2 separate regions of the Homo sapiens genome follow, and region 2 is linked to region 1. Evidence: promoter capture Hi-C in human tissues and cell types (Jung and others, 2019). All regions are on one chromosome and are shown on one strand. The core of a region is centred on a gene start or on the middle of the fragment in contact, and the rest is flanking DNA. Distances in the headings are between cores, read along the strand shown. Region 1 holds the start of KCNRG (potassium channel regulator). Region 2 overlaps DLEU1 (deleted in lymphocytic leukemia 1).

Region 1 (6,456 bases), core at 368-2,867:
CGTGCCCAGCCAAAGACTGCTCTTAAAGCACCTTTTTGACAGTGAACATGGTCTAAAAAAGGGAAGATATTGTAGAAGATTTCACACACACACGCGTGTGTGGGAGACAACTAAAGGTATTGAAGGTACTAATTAATTAGATTTCCAAAATTTTCTACAGAGAGTTAATTATCACCAAAATGTGAATGGTACATACAAAACCTGGCATTTTCTTGTGATAAGTTTACATTTTTAGGAGAGTGGAGCTTTCAATCTGCCCTTTTCTCCTTTGTTTTTGTAGTTTTCACCAAAGATGATCAACTAGAAATGTTAAGTGGCTATGCAAGCAAAAGCATAGATAGGTTAAAAAAAAGGATCAGCTGGCTGGGCAGGGTGGCTCATGTCTATAATCTCAGCATTCTAGGACAGTGATGTGGGAGGATTATTTGAGGCTAGGAGTTCCAGTTCGAAACCAGCTTCGTAAACATAGCAAGACCCAGTCTCTACCAAAAAAAAAAAAAAAAAAAAAAAAAAAAAAAATATATATATATATATACACACACACACACACATATGTACACATACATATATATACATATATATGTATATATAGAACACATGGCAAGAGCAGGAAATGGGAAGACTACCTTTTTTCTGGCAGCTATGTGTTGTTTTGTTCGAAAGATGGCAAGTGTACAACCAAACCAATCCACTTGCTTACAGAAAGAATGTTTAGTGTAGTTAAGACTAATTTGACAACAGATAAAACAGTCTGTCAGCTATTACAAAGTAATCAGCTGAACACTAATGCTGTTCTGTCTGCTCACAAGAGATAAAGATACCCTCTCATGGAATAAACACCTTGCTTAGAATTCATATAACAAAGAAGTAACCTTATAACTGCTCTCTAGTCTGCCTTATTTGTGTCATAGAGTAAGATATTCCTTGAAAGCCCATTAAGTGGAATAGACTTTCTGAAAATAAGAGTTCTTTACCTCAGTCCTCCTCTAATTTGGTTGAGAGGAGGTAATGAAAATGGGGACAGGATAAAAGGTGGCAACTAAATTTAAAGCACAGAAGAAATGATTTCCTTCTAGCTATGAGAATAGTCAAATTGAGCTTGCCAGGCTGTCTCATTCCTAACATGTAATTCATGATTTAGCCACTAAATTTCTAAGGAGATCATAAGAAATTAAGAAAAACGTTTAAGTCTAGCCTCTGCGTGGTAGACAGGTATGGGGAGGGAGAATGCTTTTCCCCTCCCAGTAATAAAAAAAAAAAAAAAAAAAATATATATATATATATATATATATATATATATATATATATATATATATATATATATAGTTTTACTAGGTTTTCATGGATAAGTTTTTAAATGTAAGACAGGAAAGGGATCTATTTGATGTCTATCTTCAGATATATTGGCAGTTTTCCTTAAGCTATTTAGTTCCTCATCTGTTGCTTTTTCATTTTGTATACTGCAAGTTCCCAGGCAACTCGAATTTGCAAACACAGCCATGGATACACTATTTACCTTACAGTAGTTTCCTGGGAATCTAAGTCTGGTTTTTGTTATTCTTCCCTCCCCTCCACTGCATAATCATGTATAACTAGCAACATTTATGGTTATAGGTTGATTTCCTAAGTGTGGCTGATGGTAGCCTCTAGTTTGAAGTGAGGGAAGAATGAGTAGTCAGGAACTGGTCACTTTGAATGTGGGAGGGAAGATATTCACGACAAGGTTTTCTACGATAAAGCAGTTTCCTGCTTCTCGTTTGGCACGCATGTTAGATGGCAGAGACCAAGAATTCAAGATGGTTGGTGGCCAGATTTTTGTAGACAGAGATGGTGATTTGTTTAGTTTCATCTTAGATTTTTTGAGAACTCACCAGCTTTTATTACCCACTGAATTTTCAGACTATCTTAGGCTTCAGAGAGAGGCTCTTTTCTATGAACTTCGTTCTCTAGTTGATCTCTTAAACCCATACCTGCTACAGCCAAGACCTGCTCTTGTGGAGGTACATTTCCTAAGCCGGAACACTCAAGCTTTTTTCAGGGTGTTTGGCTCTTGCAGCAAAACAATTGAGATGCTAACAGGGAGGATTACAGTGTTTACAGAACAACCTTCAGCGCCGACCTGGAATGGTAACTTTTTCCCTCCTCAGATGACCTTACTTCCACTGCCTCCACAAAGACCTTCTTACCATGACCTGGTTTTCCAGTGTGGTTCTGACAGCACTACTGATAACCAAACTGGAGTCAGGTATTTTGTACTTTGCAGTATTTCTCTTGTATACCAGTTTGTGATGTTTTCTCTAAAAACTTGAAGTTCCTCAGGCCTGTAACTTCTGGAAAAGATGATTATTCAAAATAATGTTTTGGGGTAACCAGTGGAGTTGGGTAGAATGACCAAATAATTATTTTCCAAACTGGGATACTTTTTAGAGTGAAAGGGGCTATTATTAGGTGGGACAAAAGGAATAAATGAAGACTGCCCAGAAAAAACTGAGACTATGGACATTCAAATCATGGGAGAAAATAATTTTGTAGATTATGTTCCATTGCTAATGAATTTGACTTAGAAAAGAATTGCCTTATTTTTAAGAGATTGTTTCAGTGGTTCACATAAAGGCTCGCTCACTGGTTTCTCTTGAGTTCCTTACACACTATATAAGTTGTTCTTTCAGTTTTATGATTCAACTACTGTTTTTCCTTCAGCTGACTTTATTTTTAAACACCCTTAAAGACAGATATATCTCATGGCAAATTTGGTATCCTGTTACAGCCTTGGCTCTTAAACAACTCAAAATATTGGGATAGGCTGTCAGTATGTTAAGGATAGTTGCTCCTGAGTCAATTCTTCACTTACTCCCTCTGTTGTTCTTGGCTGGATCCTAACGCTGATTTCCACTCTGCTGTCACAAACATTTTTCCCCCCGTAAAATGTCTTAATGCTGTCCTACCATTATTTTACCAACTGTGAAAGCTGGCTTTAATTTTTAGGAGGAAAAGAAAAGCCTGCATGTGTTCTTTATTGGTATCATTTAAAATATACTTTTTTTTTTTTTTTTGGTAAAGGTAGGCGTATTTTAAGATATTTTCTTAACTTGAGCAGTAGCCAACAGGAAGGATACCAGTGTCTCTCTCTCTTAGCGACACACTCCTTGGTCTTGCTTACCAACTGGAGGACACTAGGTAGAATAACCGAGTATGACAATTCTTAATTGTTTACATTTTATAACTTCCTGTCCTTCAAAAGAGTTTGAAATGTCATTTTGGGAAAAGAGAGCCAGTCAAGCTAGTAGGCTGATTGTGAAGAAAATCTAATACCTTATCTTTATCTCAAACCTCTGTACAACTTTATTTTCATTGATGGGATACTTTAACAAAAATGAAATTTTTTTTGGTTTTTAAAATATGAGTGATTATGACCTCTTTGGGGATCATGCTTCAAAAAGTCAGAAACCTAGAGACAAAACTGTCATTGATTTTTAAGAAGAAACACACTAGGTCAAAAGAAGATGTCCTGGAAATACGAAGTACTCTTTAAAAACCATGCATTTGGAGAAAGTAATTGTTTCCTTGAAAAACATGATTAAAAACTAAAACTGGGATGTTCCTGTGTGTACACAGTGCCAAATGGTTTTCCCTTTTTATGTTGTGTTTTAGAAACAGCACGAAAGTTTTTTCCATTTTAAAGTGAGAAAACATTATATTTAGACTTCCATAATTCCAAAATCAGAAGCTATTTTTAAAATTAGCATTTTCTTGCATCACCAAATGGTATTCAATTGTTTGAAGCTCAAAATTTTTACCATTCCATAAATGTTTGTGAATTTTTAGACAGTGCCAATTTAAAAGTAGAGATAGCCAATCTGAATACGGTGAAATTATGGGGATCTCTGGTGATTGGGATGAAAACTCTGGCCTTAAAAGGTCCACTTTTAGTATATAATTGCCTAATTAGCAATCATTTTTATTTTTTGCTCACTCCCTGGTCTGAATCTATCTGTCTATTCAGATATTTTTTGGTAGGTTTGGAAAATGGAGAAGTGAGCCTAATTGGTGCCTAATTGTCTGGTGTATCATTCACTTTATTCAGTTTGTTCTATCAATATGATTTACCCCTCAAGGTTAACCTAGCAGGTTGCTCAGTTATTATCTCTCAAGGTCACAGTACTAGAAATACTTGGCTTGCATCTTTCAGATGCCATTCATGTTATCAAGCTCAAATTATAGTTGGTCACAGGATTCTAAAGTCTTTATTTGACTTCTCCTTTTTGAACTGGCTCAAATGGAAAAGTGTAGTTGCTTTTAAATGTTAAAAATAAGTTTAAACTTTATATTTCCCATTGGTTTCCCCTATTTTGTCCTTTCTTTGTGTGCTTGAAATATTTTATTTTTCAGTTTGTCCTCATAGGGAATCAAGTATTTTAGCTAGGTGATGTCTTGCAAGTACGTTCCACTTTGTTACAATCTACTATCTGTATATACTATTTGTATCTTAATTCTTTTATGAGATGTTCTGTAACATTTTTCTCACTTTGACAAATGTTTTTAGACTGTACAGTCAAGATCTGGCGCTTGGGGGTAAGTGGAATGATTTGCTAATATTGAGAATCTGTTGTATCAAACATAATAAACTTTTTTTGAGATGTGCTTTGTAGTTTGGTAATTCTTAGATTTTACTATTGGTTTCTTTGCTTAGAATGAGTTTCTAAATGTGAACTACAAAAACCACTCTACTTCAAGCATGATCATTAGAAGAAGGTTAGGGATGTCCCCAAGCATCATTTTATCCCTTAAAACTACAGATAGTTTAGGTTTCTGCCTGAACTAATCTAAGTTAGCTTTTTCTTCACATCTCATAAACTAATGGTGGGAGGACACAAAGAGCTTTATGAAAACATTTTTGATGGCAGATAAGGACGGAGTCATAAAGCTGTATCCATGCAGATGTGTTATGCTGACATTATTGTTATTATTGAGATGGAGTTTCACTCTTGTTGCCCAGGCTGGTATGCAATGGCGTGATCTCGGCTCACCACAACCTCCGCCTCTGGGGTTCAAGTGATTCTCCTGCCTCAGCCTCCCGAGTAGCTGGGATTACAGGTATGCACCACCACACCTAGCTAATTTTTGTATTTTTAGTAGAGACGGAGTTTCACCATGTTGGTCAGGCTGGTCTCAAACTCCCGAGCTCAGGTGATCCACCAGCCTCGGCTTCCCAAAATGCTGGGATTACAGGCATGAGGCACTACGCCCAGCCTATGCTGACATTATTAAAGCCAACAGATAGCTAATCTGAAAAGTTCATGTGCATTTTTTTCTTTTTTTCTTTTGTTTTTTTTTTTGAGACGGAGTCTCGCTCTGTCACCCAGGCTGGAGTGCAATGGCGCCATCTTGGCTCACTGCAAGCTCCGCCTCCTCATGTGCATTTTTCTTGAATTGGTTCTGTGTACTGCATTTGTTCTGTGGAGCACCTCAGTGAATAGAAGATTTTGCCCTTTCCACTCTCCAGAGGCTTTTGACCCCAAGTTGTGCTCTTTGACAATGGAGAGTTATTGCGTAAAAAGTGACAATAAAATCTTGACATTTCATATCTGCAAAATTTCACTTAAAAAAAGGTAAATTTCATAGGAGTAAGTCGCAAAGGAAAATCCATAATGTCAGTGCTAATAATTGATAAGATTAGATCTGGAGGGGAAATTGTAAGTGCACAGCATTCATTAAAATATTTGATTCAATCAACTAATTAATAGCAAATTCAAAACAAAATTGGAAATAGTTATATAAAAATTAATACAATTTGTTTGATCAAATGTTTTCTTTAGAAAGTGATCTCTCAAAAATTGATGAGTGTTGGTTTACTTCTAAATATGGAATTGAAATGACTTTCAGAATCACAGCAAGGTCTCGATTTTCAGCACCTGATTACTGATTTGGTAGCCTAGCACGGTGGCTCATGCATGTAATCCCAGCACTTTGGGAGGCCGAGATGGGTGGATCACTTGAGGTCAGGAGTTTGAGACCAGCCTGGCCAACATGGTGAAACTCAATCTTTACTAAAAATACAAAAATTAGCCGGGCATGGTGGTGTGCGCCTGTAATCCCACCTGCTTAGGAGGCTGAGGCAAGAGAATAGCCTAAACCTGGGAGGCAGAGGTTGCTGAGAGCCAAGATCACACCACTACACACCAGTCTGGGTGACAGAGTAAGACTCCATCTCAAAAGAAAAAAAAAAAAAATCACTCATTTGGATTTGTAAAGTAAATGAAATTTCAAAAAAAAAATCTGTCTTGAGAAGGTATGATGCCTTTGAGGTTGTAAGTCAAATTTATGTGTATAGTTTTGCTAGTTATTAAAGGGATGCTTTATAATTAAGCTTCTTTTTGTGTGTCCTAGGTATGTTTCTATAAAACCTGATAACCGAAAATTGGCCAACGGAACAAATGTCCTCGGCTTACTGATTGA
Region 2 (5,678 bases), core at 2,116-4,615, 470 kb after region 1:
TGTTGGTGCCAACCTTGCTAATGAACATGTGGTTTCCATAATAATGTGGCTACTTGCATATTAGGTGGCAAGGTGCCAGGTACGTACTTAATGTTGAGGGGGCAACTGATGTAAAAAGTACCATCTCCTGATATGATTGCATTTCCAAAAATACTCTGCACCTGGACTGAAACTCGGCAAAATGAGGAATGTCAGTCAGCATCAGGAAGTTTAAGGCATTGACAGATAAGGAGGAGCCCTGCAGATTCCAGGCATGCACTCTGTGAGCCTCAAGCATCCATCACAAGGTCTTGATGATAACAAAATGGGTAACGTCACAGTGTGAAAAACAGCCCGACCCAGGAGGGTGGTGGGTGGGGGAAGGTTTAGGACCACTCCCTGCTTCAAGTTCCTGGTGTTCTGGACTCAGGCACTTGAGGGTCTGAAAGCTAGAAGACAGTGAAATGAGTTACAGTTTAATGATATTCCCACTACACTGACAAAATGGATTCAGTTACATAATGGTAGCATTAAATGTTATTAAGAAGGGATCCAAAGTCTTGGGGCCAGACTTTCACAAAATCATGATAAGCTGCGAAAAACAGCTGAAATAGCACATTTATAGGCTTTCCAGTCCTCAATTTGTTGAAGGGGAAAAAAGTTGTTATATTTGCTCAAACATTCTGCAGTGTTGGCCTATAATCAGGGGCTTAGTGGAGGGGCGGGGGGTGTCAGGACATATCTGATTTGATTATTATATCTTAACTTGCATTTTTGTTTTCCTGAAAGCTTTTGTGAAGTACAGAGCTAAATGGTTTGCCCAAGGCCTTGGTTGCTTAGTAGGGCAGTGATTTTTCTTGGTGTCAAGACCTCCTCTGTAGAGTGACCAGGTGTAGAGGGTAGACTGTTTTTCTTCATTTCTATCTTCTCTTTGTATAAGAGAAGCTTCATTTTTTTAAATCTGCATTTTATAAAATTGATTCATTGTGGTATGTAGTTTTTTTTAATGTTTAATTTTTGTGGGTACATAGTAAGTGTATATATTGATGGGGTGCATTAGATAGTTTGATACAGGCATATAATGCATAATAATCACATTGTGGAAAGTGGGGTGTTCATCCCCACAAGCATTTATCCTTTGTGTTACAGACCATCCAGTTATACTCTGTTAGTTATTTAAAAATGTACAATTAAATTATTTTGACTATAGTCACCCTGTTGTGCTATCAAACACAAGATATTATTCATTCTTTCTGTTTTTTGTACCCATTAACCATTCCCACCTCCTCCCAGCATCCCAGTACCCTTCCCAGCCTCTGGTAACCATCCTTCTACATAAGTTCAATTATTTTGATTTTTACCCCCTAGAAATAAGTGAGTACGTGTGATGTTTGTCTTTCTGTGCTTGGCTTATTTCATTTAACATAGTGACCTCCAGTTCCATCCATGTTATTGCAAATGACAGGATCTCATCCTTTTTTATAACTGAATAGTACTCCATTATGTATAAGTATGTAGTGTATAGTTTGGACTAAGGTATCTACTACCACAATCAACATGCCAAGAGTTCCATCACTTCCAAAAAATTTCTCATGCTGCCTGGTTGTCATCAGTCTTTTTTCTACCTCCAGCCTCTGCTAACTGCTGATCTGTTCTCCATCCCCATAGTTTTGTCTTGTTTTGAATAACATATAAAGGGAAACTATAGCATGTAGTCTCTTGAGTCTGACCTATTTCATTAGCAAAATGCATTTGAGATTCATTCGTATTGTTTCATGCATGAGTAATTTACTTCTTTTTATTGTAAAAGAGTATTCCATTGTATGGATGTATCAGTTTGTTTATCCATTCACCCATGGAAGGAAATTTGTACTATTTCCAATTTTTGGCTTTAATTATTATATTTTTAAACCATCTTATTGAAGTATAATTGACATACAAAATCTGTCCTTATTTAATTTATACAACTTGATGAGTTAGGAGATAAGTATGCACTCATCAAATCATCACCATAAACCTATACTTCACCATAAATCATGCCATAAACCTATACTTCACTTCCAAAAATTTCCTCCTGCTTTCTTTCTTTATTATAATAATAATTATTATTATTATTTGTGATAAAAGCACTCAACATTAGATCTGCTTTTAAAGCAAAATTTTAAGGATACAATATATTATTGGTAATTACAGTCCCTGTGCTTTACAGTAGATCTCTAAGATTATCCATTTTATATAATCAAAACTTTGTACACTTTGACTCATACCTTCCATTTCTCCCTCCCCACAATCTCTGACCACTATCCTTCTATTCTCTGCTTCTATGAGTTTGACTACTTTAGATTCATTACATAAGTAATATCATGTAGTATTTGTCCTTCTGTGTCTGGCTTATTTTACTTAGCATAATGTATCCCAGGTTCATCCATGTTGCTGTAAGAGGCAGGATTTTCTTCTTTTTTAAGGATGAATAATATTCCCTTGTATGTATATATTACATTTTCTTTATCCATTTAGGAGTCAGTGGACATTTAGGTTGTTGCTTTGATGCCTCGGTGATTGTGAATAATGCTGCAGTGAATATGGAAATGCAGATAGCTCTTGAAAATACTATTGGCTTATTATTTATACCTCTTTTATATTTTTACTTTTAGTGGTTGCCCTAGAGTTACAATATTTATCTTTAATTAATCTGAGTTTACCTTCAAATAATATTAAATCACTTCACATGTAGTGTATGGACCTTGCAACAGTATATTCAAATTCCTTCATCTTTTACTTTATGCTATACATTTAATTTTACATATGCTGCAAGCACATAGTATATTGCTACTATTTTTTTTCTTTGCATAATCAATTATCATTTAGGCACTTAGGAGTAAGAAAATGCATTTTTAAATCTTTATTTATTTCCTTTCCCACAACTCTTTATTTGTTTGTGCAGATCCAACTTTCTCTCTGGTGCTATATTACTTCTACCTGGATAGCCTTCTCAAACATTTCTTATAATGCAGGCCTATTACCAATTAATTCTCCATTTTTCTTTTCGAGAAAGATTTTATTTCACCTTTAGTTTTAAAAGATGTTTTCCTGGGTACAGAACTCTGGCTGACAGTTTTTAAAAAATCTTAATGATGTCACTCCATTTTCTCCTGGCTTACATGATTTCCCACGAGAAGTTTGTTCTTATTTTTGTTCCTCTGTATAGAATGTATCTTTAGTTTAGTTTTGTTTTAATAAATTTTATTTTTAGAAGAGTTTTAGGTTTACAGAGAAACTGCAACAGTAGTACAGAGAGTTCCAGTATATCTCATATCCGGTTTACCCATTATTAATATCTTATGTTAGTATGGTACATCTGACCCAATATTGAAAAATTATTATTAACTAAAGTCTGTACTTTATTCAGATTTCCTTAGTTTTTACCTAATGGCATTTTTGTGCTCTAGGATCCCATCTACCACATTATGTTGTGATCATGTCTCCTTAACTCCTCTAGGCTGCGACAGTTTTTCAGGATTTCTTTATTTTTGATGACTATGATAGATTGAGGAGTACTGGTCATGTGTTTTGTAGAATGTCCCTCAATTTGGATTTGTCTGATGATTTTCTCAAGATTCGACTGGGGTTATGGGTTTTTGGGGAGGAAGACCACAGAGGTAAAGTGCCATTTTTGTAATAATCATATTAAGGAGACTTACTGTTAACATAACTTTTCACTCTTGATGTTGACCTTGATCACGTGGCTAAGATAGTATTTGTCAGATTTCTCCACTGTAAAATTACTCCTCTCTCTTTTACTTTTGAAATCTTTGGAAGGAAGTCCATATAAACAGCCCATGATTAAACAATGGGGAGTTAGGTTTATTCTCCTTAAGGGTAGAGTAACTACATAAATCATTTAGGATCTTCTACAAGTGAGACTTGTCTCTTCTTCCCCGTTATTTATTTATATCAATATTAATGTCTTTTATTTTTGGCTGCCTTCAGAAATTTTCTCTTTCTCCTCTCTTTGTTTTTTATCATTTGGATAAGACATATCTCAGGTTTGTTTTTTAATTTGTTTGTTTGTATTGTGTGTATCCTCACTGGTGTTCTTTGTGTTTCTTGGATCTGTGGTTTGGTGTCTAATGTTAATTTTGGAAAAATCTTGGTTATTATATGTTCAAATGTTTATTCTGCCCTATTCCCTCTCTCTTCTTGTAGAATTTCAATTAAACACATCTTAGGTATATGTCATTGTTCTACATTCCTTTGATATTCTATTCTACTTTTTTCATTCTTGTTTTTCTTTTAATTCAAATAACTTATATTGACCTATATGAGGCTTACTGATTCTTTCTTTGACTAGTCAAATGTATTGATGATACACTCAAAGGCATTCTTCATATCTGTTACTTTTTTATTATTATTATTTGTAGCATTCCTACTTAAATCTTCCTTAGTACTCTCTCTCTCTGCTGAAATTACTTATCTGATCCTGTGTGTTGTCTCCTTTTCCCATTAGAACTTTCAACATATTAATTATAGTTATTTTGAATTTCCTATTTATGGTTTTGATATTTGTATTATATCTGAGTCTGCTTCTGTCGATTTACTCATGCCACTGTGTTGTTTTTCTTGCTTTATTTTTGTATGCTTTGTACTTTTTTGGTTGAAAGCTGTATACTTTCTGTAGGACAATATATACTAAAGTAAGTGATTTTTTTTTTTTTTTGAGACAGAGTCTTACTTTGTCACCCAGGCTGGAGTGCAGTGGCACAATCCAGGCTCACTGCAACCTCCACCTCCCAGGTTCAAGTGATTCTCCTGCTTCACCCTTCCAAGTAGCTGGGATTACAGGTGTGCGCTGCCACACCCGGCTAATTTTTTAAAATTATTATTTCTAGTAGAGGCAAGGTTTTGCCATGTTGGCTAGGCTAGTCTCAAACTCCTGACCTCAGGTGATCCGCCCGCCTCGGCCTCCCAAAATGCCGGGATTACAGGTGTGAGCCACCGTGATGGCCAGGTAAATGATTTTTATTCCTGGAAATGAGCACATTTCCTTCTGCTAGGACTCTAATGTGGATTATTGAACCAATCTACTTAGGGATTTAATTGGAATAGAGATTGCTGTTGCTCTGGTTAACTACAGTGTACTACAGACTTCAAATTCCTGTAGTGACACTTTGTGTGTTGGGTGGAGGCTGGTTCGCCAGAAGGCTTTTTCTTAATATCCATTCTCAGCTTTAGGTCTTTATTTTACACTATGCCTTAGAGATGGTCTCTTTCCATACTCATTTAATTCTTCCACCATTACTAACTGTTACTTGTTACTTAATGCTTGTTAGAGTGGTGGCGTGGGGTCAGGAGTCCATTCTTCATTCTTTTCATGAAGCTTGTTTTTAGGCAGGCACTGTGTGTCTCTGGAGACCTTTTTCTGTATTTTTTACTTTAAAAAGTATGGAGTCCATTCATAAGGATGCTGGCGGGGGCAGTAAGGAGATATCTGGATGTACTTTAATCCAAAAACCATATTTTAGCATGTTCTATGTGCCAGATCCTGGGCCAGATGCTCTAAATGCAAATGGACAATGACGTGGTTCTTCCAATTCAGAAGCTCTGTATCAGAGAACCATAAACTGGTAAATAGGTGTAGACTCAAGGTACTTTGAAACCCAACAGAGGGCTTTTTTGCTCAGTGCAGATGAGGGTGATGG

What was found. Contacts are between HindIII fragments. The study calls those that stand out against the background at their distance.
Region 2: a fragment that was not itself captured here is called in contact with the fragment with the promoter of KCNRG in region 1 in 1 of the 25 tissues and cell types used here (hippocampus).

What each region holds. Positions count from the first base shown.
Region 1 is chr13:50,013,827-50,020,282 of GRCh38, forward strand. It overlaps KCNRG (potassium channel regulator), which reads left to right and starts at 1,618. Exons shown (of 2, transcript NM_173605.2): 1 at 1,618-2,245; 2 at 6,388-6,456. The coding sequence starts at 1,668. TRIM13 (tripartite motif containing 13) reads left to right here. Exons shown (of 2, transcript NM_213590.3): 2 at 1-4,641. The region is part of intron 10 of DLEU2 (deleted in lymphocytic leukemia 2); the gene reads right to left. The HindIII fragment of the contact is 16,932 bases long and covers 1-4,197 here.
Region 2 is chr13:50,486,479-50,492,156 of GRCh38, forward strand. The region is part of intron 4 of DLEU1 (deleted in lymphocytic leukemia 1); the gene reads left to right. Among named protein-coding and RNA genes, the nearest start is that of DLEU1-AS1, 38 kb to the right of the region's middle. The HindIII fragment of the contact is 5,039 bases long and covers 847-5,678 here.